2 separate regions of the Homo sapiens genome follow, and region 2 is linked to region 1. The links are contacts of gene promoters, found by promoter capture Hi-C in human tissues and cell types (Jung and others, 2019). All regions are on one chromosome and are shown on one strand. The core of a region is centred on a gene start or on the middle of the fragment in contact, and the rest is flanking DNA. Distances in the headings are between cores, read along the strand shown.

Evidence for each region. The method cuts DNA at HindIII sites, captures the fragments that hold promoters and counts their contacts. A contact is called where the count stands out against the background at its distance.
Region 2: a contact is called between the fragment with the promoter of OR1L4 here and the fragment with the promoter of OR1L1 in region 1, in 1 of the 25 tissues and cell types used here (mesendoderm cells).

What each region holds. Positions count from the first base shown.
Region 1 is chr9:122,660,166-122,663,516 of GRCh38, reverse strand. OR1L1 (olfactory receptor family 1 subfamily L member 1) reads right to left here and starts at 1,801. Exons shown (of 1, transcript NM_001005236.3): 1 at 869-1,801. The coding sequence starts at 1,801. The coding sequence ends at 869. The HindIII fragment of the contact is 8,013 bases long and covers 1-3,351 here.
Region 2 is chr9:122,722,350-122,725,700 of GRCh38, reverse strand. OR1L4 (olfactory receptor family 1 subfamily L member 4) reads right to left here and starts at 1,711. Exons shown (of 1, transcript NM_001005235.1): 1 at 776-1,711. The coding sequence starts at 1,711. The coding sequence ends at 776. The HindIII fragment of the contact is 15,967 bases long and covers 1-3,351 here.

The DNA.
Region 1 (3,351 bases), core at 552-3,051:
TTGTTGAAAGAGCAAATGAATTCATAAATCTCTGAGTTGCAAGATAATTCATGGACTAGCAGTGACTAATATTTCTCAGAACTCACAAATGAGCAAAAGTGTTTCTTTCCTACCCAATTTGTTTTTCTGGTTGGAAGACTGTCTTCAAAGTCTGTTAAGGAAGAGAACTGCCCCAGCAGTTGGAGGCATCTGCTACTAAGGTTACTGGGACCTAACACATACCTCCCGGGAAAACAGTGCAGTTGAGTTTGGGTCAAATGAAATTAATGAGAGATTTAAGGTACAGTCAGCTTTGCCAGGTGGGAAGCAGGAAGAATACTGAGATGCCATACTCTTAGGAACCTGACCTGGCACTGATTCACTAAGAGTTATCTAGTGGGATGATTTTATTTGTTGAGACTATGACAACTATAGAAGCCAGGCTTTAATCTTTGAGGAAATGCAGAGGAAGGAGTCACAGTTCTGACATTTATAATGGGAGAAAGAGAGAGACCTCGTTATTGAGGAGCCCCTGGGCTAATATGATGAAGCGACACACACACACATACACACACACATGCACACACGCACGCACACACACACAGAGTAGCTCAAAGACATTCAAGCAGCTTTACATTACTATACAAGAAAACCCAGCTGCATGAATAGGGATACTCAGGAGATTACAGTGATCCAACTTAGTTTGTAGGCATTATATTCAGGAGTAGCTTCAATACATGCAATAAACATTCTTCTGTAAGGAATGAAACACCATCATTGAAGGTACTATCCTTTCAGAATCTAATAATCATTTCAGAATCACATACCCATTAATAACCTATAGTCCAGGGCAAGAGATCTGTGGTATTCTCTTAAGACCTTAGGTCTTTTACTGACATTTCATCCTGTGCATCAACTTTGCCAAACCCTGCTTCATGTCTTTGTTCCTCAGACTATAGATAAATGGATTTAGCATAGGAGTCAGTACGGTGTAGATAATTGTTGCTATTTGATCCTTGACAGTATAGTTGGACAGGGGCTGAAAATAGAGATAGCTAATGCTTCCATAAAACAGGGTCACCACTGTGAGATGAGAGCCACAGGTAGAAAATGCTTTACGCTTTCCAGCAGCTGAAGGAATCTTCAGAACAGTGATGAGGATTCTTAAATAAGAGATGATGATGCATGAAAACGGGGTCATTATGACAGCCAAGCCTTCTGTCATTACTGTGATTTCTTTGACAAAATGGGAGGAACAGGACAATTTTAGCACTGGTTGATCATCGCAGAAAAAGTGATGGATGACATTTGAGGCACAGAAGATGAGCTGATTAGTCAGAAGAATGTGCAGGAGGGAGTGAAAATGTGGAATGCAGAAGGAGAGAACCAGAAGCAGGACACAGCATCTGTGACTCATAATGGTGATGTAGTGGAAGGGATTACATATGGCCACATAGCGGTCAATGGCCATGGCTGCTAGCAGGTAACTGTCTGTGTTTCCAAAGGCTAAGAAAAAGTACATCTGGGTCAGACACTCACTGTAAGAGATGGTCTTTGTCTCTGATAAGAAGTTCACCAGCATCTTAGGGATAATGACTGTCACATAGCAAATGTCAACAAAAGACAGGATGCTTAGAAAGAAGTACATGGGCGTCTGGAGACGAGTGTCTGAGCGGATGGCCAGGATGATAAGCAGGTTTCCTATCACTGTGATAAGGTAGATGGGGAGGAACACAGCAAAGAGCGGCTTCTGATCCTCAGGTCGAGAGGAGAGTCCAAGGAGGATGAATTCAGAGGGTCTTGTTAGGTTATTTCTTCCCATAGTTGTGGGTTCACCTAAAGATAAACTAACACTGTAACAGATTCTTCCAACATCTGATACAATCTGTCCAAAATTTCTCCTTTTATTCTTCTTATCAGCAAAGAAAAAATTTAAAACATTACAATTATCTGGATTGTGGTTTCTTTCCATTAATGTGGGATATTTAGAAATTAATATATATTTTAATCTCAGTTGCCTGCTATAAAGAAACAAATTACAGGGAAACAGAAATGGGAAAAAGAGAAAAGAAGAGATATAGGGCAAGAGGAAGGAGTGAGTGCAAGAGAATTCCCAGAAGGAGAGGAGGGGAATCCTGGAGAAATTATTCTCTTCTTTTTCTGTATATATTTATCGTATTCACGGTTTTCAGTAATTAGTTTATGACAGGTTTAAAAAAGTTTCATCTCTCAATTTCCAGCTGATGGAATAATGATTTCCCTTAGTTCGGATACTTCTGTCTGCATCAGTTATTCTGGAGGCTGGCAATCATGTAAAAAGACATTGAAATATGAGATTACCCAACAGTTACTCCATTTCCCTCATTTTTTAGTGAAACCTTATTTGAGTGAAAGGATAGGTATGAAGAGGCAAAAGATAGACAGAAATAACAGGATAGTAAAAACATTTCTTTTCCTTATTTTTTTTTTTTTGAGACAAGGTCTTGCTTTGTCACCCAGGCTGGAGTGCAGTGGCACAATCTTAGCTCACTGCAACCTCTGCCTCCTGGGTTCAAGCGATTCTCCCCCCTTAGCCTCCTGAGTAGCTGGGATTACAGGCTTGTGCCACCACACCCAGCTAATTTTTGTATTTTTAGTAGAGATGGGGTTTCACCATGTTGGCCAGGCTGGTCACGAACTCCTGATCTCAAGTGATCCGCCCACCTTGGCCTTCCAAAGTGGTGGGATTACAGGCATTAGTCACCGCACCCGGCCAACATTTCTTTTAATGTAACATAAACCTCATTTTTGTTATCCAGCCCCTAAATGCTAAAATCGTCATTGTTAGTGCATGCTTGTCTGTGTTGGTGTAATTCTTTTCCCAATTCCAGTCTCAGTTATATATATGCTTCCCCAAAAAACCACACAGAGAAGGCACCTGATTCTAGACAAGCTTTCAACCCTCATGAAGCTGAAGATTTTCCTCTCTTCCTCCTCTGGGCCTCCCACATGCTGAAGAGATTAAAGACACTCATAGACCCCACCCTCTGTCAAGGGAGCATCCTTTGAGATCATCAAGAAGTCCCTGGAGTTCAGATGGAGAAGACAGCAGAAAACAAGCCAAGAACTATTACGGTTTTGGAGTTTCTTCCCCAAGGAGCCTGGGGAGTGTCAGTGCCTTCTCTCTCTCTCAGAAATCACCCTCCTGACCTAACTCCTTTTGGTGAAAAAGACCCCACCTGTGTGAGGCTGGCTCAAGTGACAGACTTCCTGAGCCTCACCGCTGTGCTGCTTACATTGAAAGACAGAATGTGGGGTTGGAGAACGTTTTCTCGGAATTCGTTGATCATCAAGCTAAAACAACTAGAACATCTTATGCCACTAGTCACTTTC
Region 2 (3,351 bases), core at 462-2,961, 62 kb before region 1:
GATTCCTCAGGGATCTAGAACCAGAAATACCATTTGACCCAGCAATCCCATTACTGGGTATATACCCAAAGGATTATAAGTCATTCTGCTATAAAGACACATGCACACGTATGTTTATTGTGGCACTATTCACAATAGCAAAGACTTGGAACCAACCCAAATGCCCATCAATGATAGACTGGATAAAGAAAATCTGGCACATATACACCATGTAATACTATCCAGCCATTAAAAAAAGGATGAGTTCATGTGCTTTGCAGGGACATGGATGAACCTGGAAGCCATCATTCTCAGCAAACTAACTCAAGAACAGAAAACCAAACACCACATGTTCTCACTCATAAGTGGGAGTTGAACAATGAGAACACACGGACAAAGGGAGGGGAACATCACACACTGGGGCCTGCCAGGGGGTGGGGAGCTAGGAGAAGGATTGCATTAGGAGAAATACCTAATGTAGATGACAGGTTGATGGGTGCAGCAAACCACCATGGCACGTGTATACCTATGTAATGAACCTGCACGTTCTGCACATGTATCCCAGAACTTAAAGTATGTGTGTATATATATATGTGTGTGTGTGTATACATATATATATATATATATATAAAGAAACTGAGTGTTTTGCTCCCAGGTTAATTCTCTTACTGATATCCAACACCACTTTTCATGACCTCTTTGAATGCCATGTGGAAAAGGGTTAGGAAGGGAGGATAAACTGATAATAATCTTTTAGGTCATGTCCTGATTTTGACATGCCAACATTTTGTTCTTTCTATGAGTAAATTCTGTGTCTTAATTTCTTCAAACCCCTTTTCATATCTTTGTTCCTCAGGCTGTAGATGAAAGGGTTCAGCATGGGTGTCACTACTGTGTACATAACTGTGGCTACCCGGCCCTTCATCACTGAGTACATGGACAGAGGCCTAAAATAGACATAGATGACACTCCCATAGAACAGGACCACTACAGTGAGGTGGGAGCCACAGGTAGAGAAGGCCTTCCACTTCCCGGCTGCAGAGGGGATTCTGAGCACAGTGACGATGATTTGCAGGTAGGAGAAGATGGTACACAGGAAGGGGGTCACAATGACAGCTAAGGTCTCAGTCATCACCACCATCTGGCTGGAGGATGTGTCAGAGCAGGAGAGCTTTAGCACAGGCTGGGTGTCACAGAAAAAGTGCTTAATGATGTGAGAGGCACAGAAAGACAAGCGAGACATAAGTAGCACGCGGAACAGGGAATGTAGGTGGGAGATGCTGCAAGAACCCAATAGCATGAGTAGGCAATGCCATGGTTTCATAACCACATCATAGTGTAAGGGGTTGCAGATGGCCACCAGCCGGTCGATGGCCATAGAGGCCAGCAGGTAGCTGTCAGTGTTCCCAAATGCCATGAAGAAGTACATCTGGATCAGGCAGCCCACATAAGAGATAATCTTTGTCTCTGATAGAAAATTCACCAGCATCTTAGGCACTATGACTGTTGTGAAGCAGATATCCATGAAAGACAAGTTGCTGAGAAAAAAGTACATAGGGGTGTGGAGCCTGGGGTCAGAGTAGATGGCCAGGATGATGAGCACATTCCCCACCGCAGTGAGTAGGTACATGATGAGGAAGATGGCAAAGAGAGGTTTCTGCAGCTTAGGGTTGGAAGAGAGGCCCAGGAGGATGAAGCCTGAGGTGCTGCTGCTATAATTCTTTGTCTCCATGTCTCTGGACTTCCTGGATAGGGTTTAGAGAAGCAATGGGAGAGATGTAAAGGACAGTTTGACCAAGACAGCTTCTTCCCCACCTCAAATCTATTTTAAAAATCTTACTGCTATTATACTTCGAAAGAACATTTAATTCTGAAACTACATAGAAACAGATAGTAAAATTCAACAAAAGAAAAGTTAAAGGATGCCAAGCTGTCTTCTAAATTAGAAACTAAAGGTTTTCCATGTGCTCATAGGAACTTCTATGTGGCCTAATTTGTTTGAGTTCTTCTCATTTCCTTTTGTAAAGATTATTCTGAGGTTGTTTCTTGACCATCTCCTTAGTCTTATTATTGTCTTTTTTGTCCCGGGGAAGAGGTTGCTGGATTCTACTTAGAATTAGAATGCTGTCATACAAGGAATCCCTATGAATGAAGTTATCTCTTTCAGCATTCTCTCTTGCTCATAGGTCCATAGATGGTAGTAGTAGTTGGGATAGAACAAAACTAAGCAACAGAATTAATCAAGGCTCCTTGGTAATTGCAGAATTCAGATAATACTTTCTTTCATCTTCAGAAAAACATTTCTAATGTTTATTTAAGCATTTCTCTTTGGCTAATATGATCTGATGCTTTATCATCTTTTGGCCCAAGGATACCAGTTAAAATTAGAGTACTCCCAGAAATAGCCTATGTAAGCAAGATTAGTTCTTTGAATATATTAATTTTTCTGGTTAAAACACTATGAAGTCCTCATTCTCAACATTCAAATATTGCAGGACTATAAAACATAGACTGTAAGAGTCCTATTTCCACCAATATCATGGAAAGAGAAGGCAAAGATAGCCCTATGACCAATATTAAGCTACATTGCTGAGATGGTTGACTGAGTGAGTAACAAAGCAAAACTAAAGCATCAGGAGGCATAAACATTAAAAAAGAAGAAAATGTCATTTTTTTGTGGCACGATTGTGTACCAAAAAATTCAAGATAATTATTTGAAAATCTTTTAAAACCTATGGCAATTTCACCAGTGGCCAGATGCGCTATAAAACTAAAAGTATTAATTATCTTTCTGTATTAGACAAATGTAATGAAGAAAAGGTTTCAATTGATAATGGCAAGAAAGTCTAAGTGATACTTAGAAATTAACCTGAGGGACAAAATAAAAGAATGAGTAAGACCTATCAGAAGAAACTATAATAGAACACAAAATGAATATCTGAATATGTGGAGAACTATACTCCTGAAAAGGAAGACTATATTTTAAAATATGAATCCTTATTAATAAAATTCAGTGTACTTCTAATAAGACCTGAAGGGAATTTTTAATGGAAGTTGAAAAGATTATTCTAAAATTCATCTAGAGTATTACATGGCTAGAGACAGACAACATTATTTTGGAAACATTAGAATAATGATGGGAAACTTTTTTAACCCCACATAAAAGCACAGTATATTGATAATCAATAAGATAATGACACACATAGGGAAAAATAAAAAACTGACCAATATAAAGCATTTTGTATATCTATATGCCTATATTTAGATCATGATCTATATTAAACTTAACATATAATAAAGATTTATTTCATAGCAATGGAAAAAGAATGGGCTATAAAATAAATGCTATTTATGACAACTGGAACATTTGGG